2 separate regions of the Homo sapiens genome follow, and region 2 is linked to region 1. The links are contacts of gene promoters, found by promoter capture Hi-C in blood cells and fetal thymus (Javierre and others, 2016). All regions are on one chromosome and are shown on one strand. Each heading gives the region's core, a stretch centred on a gene start or on the middle of the fragment in contact. The rest is flanking DNA. Distances are from core to core; before and after follow the strand shown.

Region 1 (7,615 bases), core at 2,206-4,705:
GGCAAATACCCACTTGACCTTCAACCTTCTTCCCTTCTGAAGTTTTGCAGCTCAATTCCACCAATATTTTTTGAACTGGGGGGTTAGGAAGGTAAAGAAGACACAATCTACTAACTATTAAATACTGAGTAGTTAAAAAAAATGCAGACCTGGGATCAAGTCCTACTTCTCCATTTATCTTTTTTTTTTTTTTTTTTTTTCCCCAGACAGAGTCTCTCTGTTGCCCAGGCTGGAGTGCAGTGGTGCAAACACAGCTCATTGCAGCCTTGACCTCCTGGGCTCAAGCAATCCTCCCACCTTGGCCTCTGGAGTGGCTGGGACTCCAGACACATGCCACCATGCCTGGCTAATTTTTTAAAACTATTTTTTGTAGCGATAGGGTCTCACTATGTTGTCCAGGCTGGTTTCGAACTCCTAGGCTTAAGCGGTCCTCCTCCCTGCCTCCCAAAGTGTTGGGATTATAGGCGCGAGTCACTGCGCCTGGGCTCCATTTATCTTTTTGATAACAGGAAGGTCACTTAACCTCTCTGAGCCTCAGCTCCTCATTATAAATGGGTAATAGTCTCTATCTCAAAAGACTGTGGTGAAAATTAAACAACACATAGTACTTAGCACAACGTCTGGCACCTAGTAAGCACTCAATACATGATAATAATAACTACTAACATTGAATTCATGCTAGGCACTATTCTAGGTGCTGAGGTTAGAGGACTACATAAGAAAATGACAATTCTACAATATACATGTAAACAAAGTGGACAATTCAACTAGTGACATGTATTATGAAAAAATAAGATAGATGATGGGAATGCTTGGGGGGCAGTGTCAAGAAACTCCCCCCACCCCAGGTGATATCTGAACTGAGACCTGGATGATAAGGAGAAGCCAACCAGTGAAAAGTCAAGGGAAGACTATCCCAGACAGAGGGAAAAGCTAGTCCAAAGACCTGGAGGCAGGAATGAGCAGGCAGTCAGAGACCAGCCAAAGCCAACATCCAGGAATGAGCTCTGTACATTCCAGGAATGGCACAACCAGGCCGGCATGGCTGGAATGAGGCAAGGGGGACAGCAACAGCAAGAAATGAGGCTGGAGATGCTGGTATGTGTGGCCATGAATGTCATTAGGATGAGTTTAGCTTTTATTATAAGAGTGATGGGAAGTCCCCAGGGAGTTGAAGCCAAGGAATAAGATAACCACTCTGGCTGCCTGTGGAGAAAATGAAGCGTGGGGAGAAGAGTGAGAGCAGGAACATTGGTCAGTCGGCTATTGTAGTGATCCAGGCACGGATGATAGTGTCTTGGACTACAGTGATAGTGCGAACAGGGAGAAAAGAGCAGATGTGTACATGTTTGAATTAGAGCAAATGGAGATGAGGGAGGTGAGGGAGTGTGTGGAGAAAAAAAGGACACACAGGAATGATCTTAGGTTTTTGGCCTGAGAGACTGGGTGGATTTTCTGAGATGGAGAGGAATGGGTTTTGGGGAAAACACCAAAAGAAAACTCTTATACAAGGCAGGCTGGAATACCACACAGTGACAGTACCAAGTGCAAAGGGGGAGTGGCAAGAGAGAGTGGCTAACTCTGGAGCTAAGGGGAATGTGGGAGGGTTAGGTGGAGAATGGAATTGGAACTGAGCCTTGCAGGACTGGAGTTGGGAGGGCTGCTGGTCCAGGTGAAAGGAGTGGTTTGAACCTAAGTTTGGGGCATGAGCAGGTATAATAAGCTCATTTTCAAATTTACACATTTGTTCCTGTCAGCTAAGAAAAGTGAAATTTAGAGAGGTTAAATAACTTGCCTAAATAAAATGTGGTAGATATACACTGTGGAATACTATGCAGCCATAAAAAAGGAACAAGATCATGTCCTTTGCAGGGACGTGGATGGAATTGGAAGCCATTATCCTCAGCAAACTAACAGAGAAACAGAAAACCAAACACCGCATGTTACCACTTATAAGTGGGAGCTGAATGAGGAGAGCACATACACCACTGGGGTCTGTCGGAGCGTAGAGGGAGGTGGGAAGAGGGAGAGCATCAGGAAGAATAGCTAATGGATGCTGGGCTTAACACTTGGGTGATGGGATGATGTGTGCGACAAACCACCATGGCACACATTTACCTATGTAACAAACCACATCCTGCTCATATACCCCTGATCTTAAAAGTTGGAAATTAAAAACAAACAAACAAAAAACCTGCCTAAGGTGATACAGTTAGAAAGTGATAAAACAAAGATCCTCCCTCCAAAGCAGAAGTGCTGAATGGTGGAACTGAGCACAGAAATACAGAGTAGCAGAAGGGGCCGTAAGATTGGAAAGTTGAGGCTGGGCCAGATTCTGAAGGGCCTGGAGTACCAGAATGAAGAGATTGGGCCTTATTTTGTAGGCGTGGATGAAGAGCATCCATTGTAGGCTGTGTAGTGGGCAAGTGGCATGATCAGCACTGTGATTTTGGAAAGTGCACTTGGTTAGATAGATGGACTAGACTGGATAACAGTTCGTAACATTCATTTATTCATTTATTTTAATAATCGTGTCAGTCGCTATACTAGGTACTGGAGTTATAATGACAAGCAAAAACAGACAAAACCCTAGCCCACATGAAAGAACTTGACAAAGAAATCAAATAAGCACACAAATAAGTGTAGAAACGGAACCACTGAGTGGCAAGTACATGGTGCTGAGATCACTCGGTCACCAGGATTTGACCTACGATGGGGACCGACCTAGACCTCCCTGCTGAGAACTGGACATCCATTGACCCCGGTTCTAGGCGACCCACTGTGAGCTAGGGCAAGGCAACTGCCTCTCTGCACCTCAGTTTCCCCATTTATGAAGAAAGAGGCACTAGATAATTCAATTTTCCTCCAACTCTAATGATCTGGGGTTTTTTTCTCCAAAGACCACAGATCTGTATCCCACTACAAGGGTACTAACTGGTACCCAGTACCTTGACATTAGAGGAGTAATTCCGCCATCGCCTCTCCCTACCGGGAAGAGTCGGTCGGTTCCCCGTTGTCAGGGCAACCGCCTGGCCACCGCCCCTCGTCTCCTTTCCCGCGGCTCATCTGCGGAAACTCAGGAGCTACTCCAGCAATTACGTCACTATCATGCGTCCCATTTGCCAGGTTATAACATGGCTACCGCAGCAACACCCCACCCAGGCTTCTCACTAAATTTCCCAACCTGACCACCTCTTCGGCCCACTCCACCTCAGGAAAAGGAGGAACATTAGCGCTGGTACAGCCGCCAAGACTTCCGGAAGCTCCATCAATCACTTAGCTCCCCTGGTCTCTCGGGTAGGCATCCGCCCACCGCCCCCATCGTCACTTCCGTCGGCCGACAGCACCCAAGATTGACAGGCGCGGACGTCCAATCAGATGCGGGCCCAGCCCCAAAGCCGAGACGAGGGGCGGGTTTGAGAGCGGAAAGCCCCACCCCTTGCCTGAGTGTGACGTCAGAATCACCATGGCCAGCTATCCTTACCGGCAGGTGAGTGTGTGAGGGGCCCGCGAATCCAGGTAGCGGCGGTGCCAGGCGCAGGCCCGACGTCCCCCTGCTCTTTCTCCCCGCTTTCTCCGCGCCCTTCCCACGATGGGTTCGCTTCAGCGAGGCCTTGCGCTGTAGAGAACCGAAAAGGGACCGTCGGTCGCGCCCTGCTCACGTCATGAAGGACCGCACATTCGCGAGGTCGTGTCGCGCCCCCTTGACGTCGCTCACTCGAGGATTTGGGGACCTTGGACCCCACAGGTCCAGGCTGGCGCTGGCCTGGGCTCCACAGCCTCCCAAGGCCCTCATGGGGGCCTTGGGCGGGGGCATCAGCCATGACCGGAGGTTTAGAGTTCTGGTTCCGCCGATCTCATTTGGGGCGTCGGATAAAAATCCAGGCTTCCGGACCCACCCCACACTGCATCAGAGTCATCAGGAAACTCTGGTTGTAGCAGGCGCCACAAGTGAGCTGGTTTGACCACTGACTTAGTTCAACACCGCCATTTCGCGTGTAGAAAAGTGAACCCCGAGAAGACACAGAACTTACCTGAAGTCACCAGGCAGTTAGGCAGCAGGGCCGAGGTCAGAACCCGGGCTATCTTCAGATGCCTCTTCCCCAGCGTATCTTGATTCAGTCAGGAATACCGCAGCAAGGTGATTCTGTGGCCAGAATTCTTTGTTGGGTGATAGTAGGGTGTTGAAGTGCACTTTGGTGTCAGAGGTAGGTTCATATCTTAGCTCTACCACCTAAATAGTTGTGAGCCCTTGAGCAAGCTGTTTTGCCTTTCTGAGTCCAAGTTTCCGCCTGTAAAATAGGGCCGAATAATAGGATCTGCCTCATAAAGCTGTTGTGGAGAGTCAGGAGGTGATGCTTACGAAGCGTTTGGTACATAGTGAGGTGTAACATGTGTTGCCCTTTAGCATTTTGATTTTTAGTAGACTTCTAAAAGGCCAGTGCCCGGAGGGTCCTCAAAATAGAGCCCTCATTTTACAGAGGAGGAAATGAAGCCCACAGAGGGCTGCGATCACACAGTTATTTAGGAGATGAAATCCATAAACGAAATGTGGGAAAACAAGATCAATTGGTATATTACACAGTGCTCAACTGAGTTTAGTCACAGGCCAAAAGATGTAACAGTCCTTCCAGGGAGTGCAGTCTTGTGCGGGTTACACAGTGTTTGGACCTCCATTATCCTAATCATGAAGTCCCTATCGGCATGCAGGTATTATTACCCCTAATTAACTGCTGAGGAGCAAACCCAAAGAGGTTAAGTGGCTTCCCAAAAGTCACACGTAGTAAGTGAGGGTGAGGCCATGACCAGAGCTTAGGACTTCTCTTATTGCATCCTTAGAGAGAGGTAGGAAAGAGAGAGGCCAGTGCGGGCTGGAGTTAGGAAGTGTAGCATAGCAGTTGCTTCCTAAAGTCCATTCCATTTGCTGAGTCTTGGGAGGTTTTAATAGATATTGTTAATATAGGAGGATTCTGTAGTTAACTAAAGTTTTGGAAATACTCTTAAGTATAGCTGAATAAGTTTATTGACCACAAGCTATTTCAGAATCCTTAATTTGCTAATGTACATTGTAAATCATCCAGAAAGGAATATAATATGCAGTATTTCTTAAACATATCTAACCATAGAAACTCCGCCTCCCGGCTTTCTTTTCAGATGTCTGGTCACTTTTTTGACTCTAGTATTTCTGAGGAACACAGGCTGAAAAAACATTCATAGCGCCTTGTTTCCCAGTGGCTGGTCTTCTGCCTCAGAATCAGCTGAGAGCTTGTTTAAGAAAGCACACTTTTGGGTCCCACTTCAGACCTGTTCTGTACCCAGGAATCTACATGCTAATAAGCATTAGGGACAATTGGTGTGCATCCTAAAAGCAGTGACAGGTTAGAGAGAACTGTGCTAGAATTCTAGCTGTATTACTTAATAGTTATATACCCCTGGACAAACTAAGGGCTCTGAGCCTCAGCTTCCTCACCTGTATAAAGGGAGAAATAATACCTGTGAAAAGGGCTAAAATGAGGTTAAAATGCAGGGAGCCTGGCGTGTTGCTAGTGCCTAGTACATGCCAGTGTCTGGTGGCAGCTCTTGCTGCCGTGACTGCTCTCATGATGCCATGCTGCCTGGGCTATTCCTGGAGTGAAATACTGAAAAGGAGCACAGAGAGAAGAGTCTGGAATAGAAAAAGAAATGTTGTTTTTTTTTCCTACCATACCCTTGTCCGCCTCCTGGTCTCAGGTGTTCTAAGAAAGGAAACGAGTTGTTTTAAAGCATCTCAGTCAGTGCTGCCTCCCCTCCACCCACTACATAGCTTTGGAGGATTCCAGCCTATTGTTAGGAGTCAGAATTCCTGTAATTTTCCACTGCTTCCAGTCCAGGGTACCCAAGCAGGGACTGGGTATTGGAGTAGTAAAATTCAAGCACCCTTTGGTCCTATGGGGGAACGAGCTTGGTGGATTTCAGTGCTTAAGAGCTTAGTTTTTGAGGCCAGAGAGAGTTGATTTCAAATCCCTGCTTTGTCACTCCCTTGCAGAAGTTTGTTGCAAAAGTCTGAGACTCAGTTTTCCCTTTTTTGAAAAAAATTTTTTATTTATTTGTTTATTTTTAAGACAGAGTCTTGCTCTGTCGCCCAGGCTGGAGTGCAATGGCACAATCTTGGCTCACTGCAACCTCCGTCTCCCGGGTTCAAGCAGTTCTCCTGCCTCAGCCTCCCAAGTAGCTGGAATTACAGGCGCACGCCACCACACCTGGCTAATTTTTTGTATTTTTAGTAGAGACGGGGTTTCGCCATGTTGGCCAGGCTGGTCTCAAACTCCTAACCTCAGGTGATCCACCTGCCTCAGCCTCCCACAGTGTTGGGATTACAGGCGTGAGCCACCACGCCTGGACTAGTTTTCCCTTCTTTAGAATGGGGTCATAATAGTATCTACCTCAGAATTACTCTAAAGATTAAATGAGAAAATCCACGTAAAGTGCTAGGTATGGTGTTGGGCATGTAGAATACTCCAAGTGGAGGAGTAATGCAGTTATGCAGATTGAAGAGGCAATGTGATAAGTATTCAATGGGAGTAAGTGTAAGGTACAGCACGGGAGAGTGAGATACCTAACTCAGTCTAGGGGTGCATTTTTAAAAGAGGTGATATTTAAGCCAACAACTGAATCACTGGTAGAAATTAGCTGAGTGAAGAAAGGAATGCTATTCCAGCAGAGGAAATAGCTGCACAAAGCCCATGAAGCAGGTAAGACAGCCTAGTATTTTGGAGGAACTTTAAGAAGTTCAGTGTAGTTGTAGTGATGTGGGGGAAAGGGGTAGGAAATAAGACTAGAAAGGTAAGCAAGGGCCAGATCCCAAAGGGCCTTGTATGCCTTTTTGGGGAGTGTGACTTCATCCTAAGAGTAGTGAGGGAGCCAGTGAAGTGTTTTGTCCCATTTGTGCTTTGGAGTGCTTACTGTGGGGTGCTGTGAGAATGGATTGAAGCAGGAGAGACAGGAGGCAGGGATACCGGTTTTGACGCTATTGAGGTAATCTAGGCTAAAGAGAACTGTGACCTGGTAGAGGAGATTTGAGAAGCACTTGGGAGGTAGATTTGAGAAAACTTGGCCTTAGGTTTGGATGATTAAGCAGAACGGAGCTCCATTCACTGAGATGAGAACACAGGGAGGCATGGGTTTGGAGGGAAGGTCCAGTAGGCTGCTGGATATGTGGGTCTGTAGCTCAGGAGTGATGAAGCTGGAAAGATTTGAAAGTGTGAGCACAGAGGTAATTGAAGTCTGGGGATGGTTCTTGGCTCATTGTTTATTGGTTGCGTGCTTCTCTCCTATTTCAAGTGGCTCTGCTGGTGAATGCTTGAACTGTTCCTCTTGTCTTCCTGTGATTGTTTAACCCCTTAGTTTGGGCTTCCCACCTCCTCCTGTGCACTTGAAGGGTAGCTCTGGGGTACAAACTTGTCTTTGCAATGCTCCCTCCTCCATTCGTCATCAGGGCTCAGCTTGGAACAGCCGTTGATACCTTTAAGCTTCACAGGGGTCTTGAGGTTAGAAGACTTGAGTCCTCAGAACTGGAAAGAAAAAAAAAATACCGGACTTTCTGAGGTGGTTATTTGGGAGGAGGTAAGCTCCCTAC
Region 2 (7,615 bases), core at 1,765-4,264, 750 kb before region 1:
GGCAACTGATATGGTTTGGCTCTGTGTTCCCACCCAAATCTCATCTTGTAGCTCCATAATTCCCACGTGTTGTAGAAGGGACCTGGTGAGAGATGACTGAATCATGGTGGGGGCGGGTTTTTCCCGTGCTTTTCTCATAATAGTGAATGGTTCTCATGAGATCTGATGGTTTTAAAATCGGGAGTTTCCCTGCACAAGCTCTCTTCTCTTGTCTGCCACCATGTGAGATGTGCCTTTCACCTTCCTCCATCATTGTGAGGTCTCCCTGGCCATGTGGAACTGTGAGTCCAGTAAAACTCTTTCTTTTGTAAATTGCCCAGTCTCAGGTATGTCTTTATTAGCAGTGTGAAAATGGACTAATATGGCGACAGAGTAAGATCCTGTCTTAAAAATAAAATAAAATGGGCCAGGAGCAGTGGCTCACGCCTGTACTCCCAGCACTTTCAGAGGCCGAGGTGGGTGGATCACCTGAGGCCAGGAGTTCAAGACCAGCCCGGCCAACATGGTGAAACCCCATCTCTACTAAAAATACAAAATTAGCTGGGTGTGGTGGTGGGTGCCTGTAATCCCAGCTATTCTGGACGCTGAGGCAGGAGAGTCATTTGAACCCAGGAGGCAGAGGTTGCAGTGAGCCAAGATCATGCCACTGCACTCCAGCCTGGGCAATAGAGTGAGACTCCATCTTAAAAAATAATAATAAATAAAATCATGAGACTTTATGAGAATATCTGGGGAATGACTATAAACATCAAAAAGGAGGAGGACACCAAGGGCTGAGCCTTCTCCCAGGGAATATCCCATTCCAGCAACAAGAAGGCGGTGAGAAAACAGCAAAGAATACTGAGATGCCAATGAACGGGGAAGAAAGTCAAGAGGGCATGATGTCCTGGAAGCCAAATGAAGAAAGTGGTCAACTGTGTCAAATAAGATGCGGATGTAAAACAAGAACTGAAAAGTGGCCATTCCTCTTGGCGACCTTAAGAAAGTTATGTCAGGCTGGGTGCAGTGGTTCATGCCTGTAATCCCAGCACTTTGGGAGGCTGAGGAGGGCAGATCACCTGAAGTCAGGAGTTCGAGACAAGCCTGGCCAACATAGTGAAACCCCATCTCTACTAAACATACAAAAATTAGTCGGGCATGGTGGTGCACAACTGTAATCCCAGATACTCGGGAGGCTGAGGCAGGAGAATCGCTTGAACCCGGGAGGCAGAGGTTGCAGCGAGCTGAGATTGCACCACTACACTCCAGCCCGGGCAACAGAGCAAGACTCTGACTCAAAATAAATAAATAAATAAAATAGATGTTTCCGTCTTCCACAGGGAGGACCAAAAATAAATAAATAAATAAAATAGATGTGTCCGTCTTCCACAGGGAGGACGTGGGATGGTGGCGGAGCTGGCTGCAGCAGAGCTACAAATAAATATAAAATAAATAAAATTAAATAAAATTAAATAAATAAAAGAAAGTTATTTCAAAGGATTGTCTGAGAGGCAAAAACCTAACTGCAGTGAGTTCAAGAGAGAATGGGAGGAGAGGGGAGTTGCAGACTGTGAGTAGGCAACGCTTTTGCTGTAAAGGGGAGTAGGGAAACGGTGAGGGATATAGAGAGGGCTGGTTTTTGTTTGCCTTTGAGATGGGAGAAACAGCAGTACGGATGATGACAAGGATAAATGCAGTCATCAGAGGGAAAAGAGATGAAGGGGGGATTACTAGATCTATGTCCTTAAGCAAACAAGAGGCGATGGGATCTACCGCACACGTGGAGGGGCTGACCTTAATTAAAGTCCAAAGTATGTGGGCTGTGGAATCTCCCTTCCAATCGCAGTAGAACTCAATCCAGGCGGTCTCCGGATTTCTCCAGACCACCTCCACCTGGCGTTGTTCTGAGCTGGGCCACCGAAAGTTGAGATTACTGAATGTGTGTGTCTCCCATTAACCCGTAAGCCCTCCAAAGGCTGCATCTAAGTCGCCTCTGAATTATTCACATTCCTCCAAACTCTGGGCCACAGCCCCGCAATATGGGCTTATTGAATTAGCCCAAAGAGACACAAAGCAGCCTCTACGCAGCTGGTTTCACAAAGGGGGGCGGTCCTAACCCTGCGCTCTGGGATCCTGACGTTCGAGCTATCTCTCCTCCTCCCCTCTGCTCCCAGCTCTCCGCAGTCCAGCTTGTCGGCTGATCATCGTCCATAGAGGCCACCGTACCCGACGTTTGCGGACAGTGACAAAGAGTCAAGCTTGGTGGAGCCTGAGGACAGGACTGAATGACGATTGAACTGAGAGTTCAGGGGCGGAGTTTGAGGGCGAACTCGGGACAGAGACTGGATAGAGTTCAGGGAGGCGGGACCTAATGATGGCGCAGGGAGGGGATTGGGCTGAGGGCGGTGCCGGCGCGAGGATTGGGCCGAGCGCCTCGGGGGCGGTCCTTGAGGGGGCGGTGCCGTGTCGGAAGTCAAAGGTCAGTAAATAGTGGTGATGTCATGCAGGCAAGATGGCGGAAGGGTGAGCTTGTCGTTTTGCTCCTAGGCGTTGGGGCCTGAATTCTCCCAGGGTTGGGGTGCTGGGCGAGAGTCCCGGTGGGGAACGTGAGATCAGCGGGGGCGTGGACTGATCTGAAAGGGCAGAGTGGAGTCGCATTGTGAGGGGGTGGGCAAGCGGTCTGCGAAGCCTCGGCCCGCAGGGTACATCTGAGCGGGGAACAAACCGGATCCTTGGGCGGGCAGGAATCGCACCGCGGTGCTGCCAGATGTGTCTGTCTTCCACAGGGAGGACGTGGGATGGTGGCGGAGCTGGCTGCAGCAGAGCTACCAAGCAGTCAAAGAGAAGGTAAGCCGGGCCCGTGCCCTTCTTCCCTCAGCAGGGCCCTGCGCCGCCTCAATGCAACCTGGTCCAACCAGCCCCGCCCAACTTTTGCGGGCGCTAAGTCTCAAGGATGAGGCTGACCTGGGCCTTTCTTTTAGCCTCTACCGGTCCACGGGAAGACAGACCTCGACGCAAACCAGTGTGATACTAGCCACAGTGAAATAAAGATGGTTTTAAAGGCTGGAGTTAACGAACGTTTTGTAGGAATCCATAGGAAGGAGCAATTTATTCCAGCTCAGGAAATTCAGTTTCTTCGTGAAAGAGAGAGCATTTGATACAGGTCTTGAAGGAAAAGATTCTAGCAGTAAAAAAACTTACTCGTATAGTCATTCAAATATTAGAGTATATGCGACAACCAGCACTCTGATAGGTCTTGAGGATACAGACTTCAGCCAAACAGATGTAATCCTGGGCCTTACAAAGCTCACAGTCTAGTGGAGAGACAGCCATTAACCGAGTAGCCAAACAAATAGTTGTTTAGTTACCGTTGTGGTAAGTTCTGTGAAAGGAAAGTACAGGGGCACCTTGTCTGTTCTGGTTAGTCAGTAACTCACCAGGGAAGGCCCCTGTGGAGAAGGAACCTCATCAAGGGCAACCCTGCCTAGACAGGATGAAAAGCAAGAACCCAAGCCAGAGATGAGCATGAGCCATACACACTGGTGCCTGATGAGTTCTAAGTAGGGGCTATGCAACGGGCAGTAGAGAGAGAGAGATTAATCACCAGAGAGTGGAAGGCCTTCTTGCTGAACAATCTCTGTGGGATGAGTGATATTTGGCTGTGCCAGTGGGTAATTTGCCAATGTGTATTCCTGTTTCATTTCATGCTTATTTGTCAAAATCAGCCCAACTGAATTGTGGGAAAAGTTGATTACTATTTACCTCAAGCAATTGGGATGAGTCCTGCTTCAGGGCCAACTCCAGGAAGCTTCTGACCTCACCTAAATAAGTCCTCTACTCTGGGAGTATTTTTGTTTTGTTTTGAGACAGAGTCTCACTCTGTCACCTAGGCTGGAGTGCACAGGTGCGGTCTCAGCTCGCTGCAACCTCTGCCTCCCAGATTGAAGTGATTCTTGTGCCTCAGCCTCCCGAGTAGCTGGGATTACAGGCATGTGCCACTACTCCTGGCTAATTTTTGTATTTTTAGTAGAGACAGGGTTTCACCATGTTGGCCAGACTGGTCTCGAACTCCTCACCTCAGGTGAGCCACCTGCCTCAGCTTCCCAAAGTGCTGGGATTATAGGCGTGAGCCACCACACCCAGACATCTGGGAGCGTTTTTATTCCTCCCTTATCCTGGGTACTCCTGGACAGCCTCTCAGCAATAGCCCAGCAAATCTGAGAATGCCCTGAGCTGTTTATGTTGTTGATGAGGACTGAGAGGCTTGCACCCTAACATTTGATAGAAGAGACCCGATAGTAGCATATTTCCTGTTGGGTAATTTCCTGGCAGGAAAGTCTGACATTCATTCAGCAGATGTTGCATGAGGGCCTCCTGTGTTTGTCTCAAGGTTGGTCTTATCATAACTTATGAAAAATAGATAGTTGGCCAACCTTCCGTCTTCATTCTTGGAATTCCCAGTTAAAAGCTGGGGTGGGGGTGGAGGTGGGAGTTGTTTATGCCTTTTTGGAAAGAAAAGACGTAATTTCCCTTTTTTTACTTTCTTACTCTTATATGTACTTGGGCAAGTGTTTTTTGTTTTTTGTTTGTTTGTTTTTGAGACCAAGTCTGGCTCTGTTACCAGGCTGGAGTGCAGTGGCTCAGTCTCAGCTCTGCAACTTCCGCCTCCTGAGTTCAAGTGATTCTCCTGCCTCGGCCTCCTGAGTAGCTGGGATTACAGGCATGTGCCACCACGCCCAGCTAATTTTTCTATTTTCAATAGAGACAGGGTTTCACCATGTTGGCCAGGCTGGTCTCAAACTCCTGACCTCAGGTGATCCGCCTGCCTCGGCCTCCCAAAGTGCTAGGATTACAGGTGTGAGCCACCACGCCTGGCCTCTTGGGCAAGTTTTTAACCTCTCTAGGCCTCAGTTCCTCATCTATAAAATGGGAATACTAACAATACCTACTTGATGAGATTGTGGTGATGGTTAAATGTTAATATATGTAAAACACTAAGAACAGTACCTAGCATACAGTAAGTGCTATATAAGCATTAGCTGTTATTAAGTGCTGAGGCTGATGGGAAAACCTCTTAGATACCACCCCCAGTTCGTTTTTCCTTCCATTTTTTTTCTTGGTCTTTTGGTGCTTTCCTATCTGTATGTCCCATTCTGGCTCCATCTGGACCACTCACTTCTCAGCACTCCTTAGAACACATTGCCCTGAAGACCACAGCTATGAGATGGTGCTATCATCTGCTTTCCTCTGCTCCTTACCTCCTCCTGTCCTGTCTTCCTGTGTGTTGTCAAGGGCAATATGACTGACACAAATACGTGTGCATACACGTTGATAGAGAAAGGCATATCATTGCTCTACATACTTACCAGAAAGAAGAAATTAAAAAGAGAAAGGCACCAAATGCTTTTTGGTTCCATCACAGATTCCCCAACCTCATCTGGGCCCACATACTCTTCAGTCTCCAATTTGCTTCTCCTCCCCTTAACTTCAGAAACTTTCCCAAAACCTAACTCTTCCCTGGGGTCCCCTATTCAGCCGCTTTATCCCTTTCACTTCCAGGAGACAACCTCATCTACTTTTTGAAACTTCAGGTGAACAAACAGGATCTTTAACTCTCTCCCCACCCTCAAAGCCACCACCTATAAACTTATCTTTACTCAGTCAGCTTTACCTACTGCTTGCCAAATCCAGTGGGTGGTTTTCAGCCCTTATCTTCCTGGACCATTCTGCTGCATTTGACGCTAGTGATCACTCCCTCTCTTGAAACGCTACTCTCTTGGCATTTGTGACATGATTCTTAAGTCTCCACATACTTCTCCAGACGTTGCTTTTGTAACTGTCTCATGAGTTCCTCTTCCTCTGCTTGCCCCCTACAGGTAGTGTCTGAGGACACTTGTCCTCAGCCCATTGCTCTGTCCACTTTCCAAACTCTTCCTGGGTCACCTTCTCCACTTTCCTGTTAGGGCGACTCTTAGACCTTTTGCCTGAACTTTAGTGTTGTGTTTTGCTTTGTTTTGAGATGGGCTCTCACTTTGTCACCCAAGCTGAAGTGCAGTGATGCAAACATGGTTCTCTGCAACCTCCACTTCCTGGATTCAAGCAATCCTCCCACCTCAGGCCCCCAAGTAGCTGGGACTATAGGCGTGTACCATCACGCCCAACTAATTTTTGTATTTTTTGTAGAGATGAGATCTCGCCATGTTGCCCAGGCTGGTCTCAAACCCCTAGGCTCAAGCAGTCTGCCCACCTTGGTCTCCCAAAGTGCTGGGACTACAGGCATGAGCCACCATGCCCGGCCAGCTTTAGTGTTTGAGGATAGCTATTGCTGGACAGCTATCCTAGACAGCCCACAGTCATCTCAAGTTCTGCGTGCCCAAAGTCATTGTTACCACCTTGTCTCTAGGACTGCTCCTCCTCCAGGATTTTCTCACTTAGCTGGCAGTACTGCATCTACGCAGTCACCTATTTTAGCAGCCTGTGGTGCTTCCATGATTCTTTTCTAGCCCTCAGTCAACATACCTGTTCAGTCACCAAATCCACCTTCTTCCATCTCCTGTATCTTGAACCAGTCTCATCCTCTCCATCTTTACTAGCATTGTCCTTACTCACATTTTTCTATTTTCTTTCCTGGATTATTGCAGCAGCCTCCTGACTGGTCTTCCTTCTTCCTCTTCTAATCTTCTCGCCTCTGGACCTTTCCTCCATTCCAGTCACTGGAGTAATTTAGTGAAAAGGCAAATCTCATGTCCCACCCACTTCAAACCTTTGGTGGCTCCCCATCATCCATAGGGCTGACCAGGCTCTCCCTGGTTGCCCTTGGCAACCTCTCCAGCTTTATCCCTCACCACTCTTGCTTCACATTTTATGTCCATCAGGACTGTAATGCTTGTAGACGTCACTAAACCCATGTCAACACTTCTTAGCTGACTCCTGTTCTTTTTTTTTTTTTTTTTTGAGACAGGGTCTCACTCTGTTACCCAGACTGGAGTGCAGTGGCATGATCACAGCCCACTGCAGCCTCAACCACCCAGGCTCAGGTGATTCTCCCACCTCAGCCTCCTGGGTAGCTGGGACTATAGGCGTGTACCACCACTTCTGGCTAATTTTTTGTATTTGTGTGTGTGTGTGTGTGTGTGTGTGTGGAGACGGTTTTGCCATAGTGTCCAAACTGGTCTCAAATTCCTGGGCTCAAGCAATCCTCCTGCCTCGGCTTCCCAAAGTGCTGGGATTACAGGCATCAGCCACTGCACCTGGCCCACATCAATACTTCTTAACCAACTCCTGTTCATTCTTTAAGGGCCCATTCCAGGCTTCTGGTCACCACATCTTCCCAACCTCCCCATAGTACAGCAGCTACTGCTCTGCCCTTGCACATCAGCACTATCATGGGACCATTTTCCCCAGTAGACTGTGACCTGCTTGAGGGCAACGTATGTTCATGTTTGTCTGCTCAGAGCTCACAGTCTAGCGGGAAGACAACTGTTTAGTCACACAAGTGGTTACATAATTGAAATTTCAATGGTCCATGTAAATTTAACAAGCAAACATTTTTTGAGTACCTACTGTATGCTCTGTGTCAGATACTGGGGAACCATCAGGGAACAAAACACATAGGACCTGTGTTCACACAACTCAC

The links. The method cuts DNA at HindIII sites, captures the fragments that hold promoters and counts their contacts. A CHiCAGO score of 5 or more calls a contact.
Region 2: a contact is called between a fragment that was not itself captured here and the fragment with the promoter of PEF1 in region 1, in 4 of 17 cell types (fetal thymus, naive CD4 T cells, activated CD4 T cells and 1 more). The highest score is 8.5, in fetal thymus.

The regions. Positions count from the first base shown.
Region 1 is chr1:31,640,716-31,648,330 of GRCh38, reverse strand. PEF1 (penta-EF-hand domain containing 1) reads left to right here and starts at 3,455. Exons shown (of 5, transcript NM_012392.4): 1 at 3,455-3,490. The coding sequence starts at 3,467. It overlaps PEF1-AS1 (PEF1 and COL16A1 antisense RNA 1), which reads right to left and starts at 4,195. Exons shown (of 6, transcript NR_184313.1): 1 at 4,035-4,195; 2 at 3,485-3,619. RefSeq lists enhancers at 2,986-3,325, 3,566-3,635, 2,955-3,725. The HindIII fragment of the contact is 8,144 bases long and covers 1-7,510 here.
Region 2 is chr1:32,389,291-32,396,905 of GRCh38, reverse strand. It overlaps BSDC1 (BSD domain containing 1), which reads left to right and starts at 2,465. Exons shown (of 11, transcript NM_018045.8): 1 at 2,465-2,502; 2 at 2,766-2,826. The coding sequence starts at 2,492. RefSeq lists enhancers at 637-1,332, 2,080-2,159, 2,031-2,726, 2,450-2,739, 2,727-3,424. The HindIII fragment of the contact is 1,550 bases long and covers 2,240-3,789 here.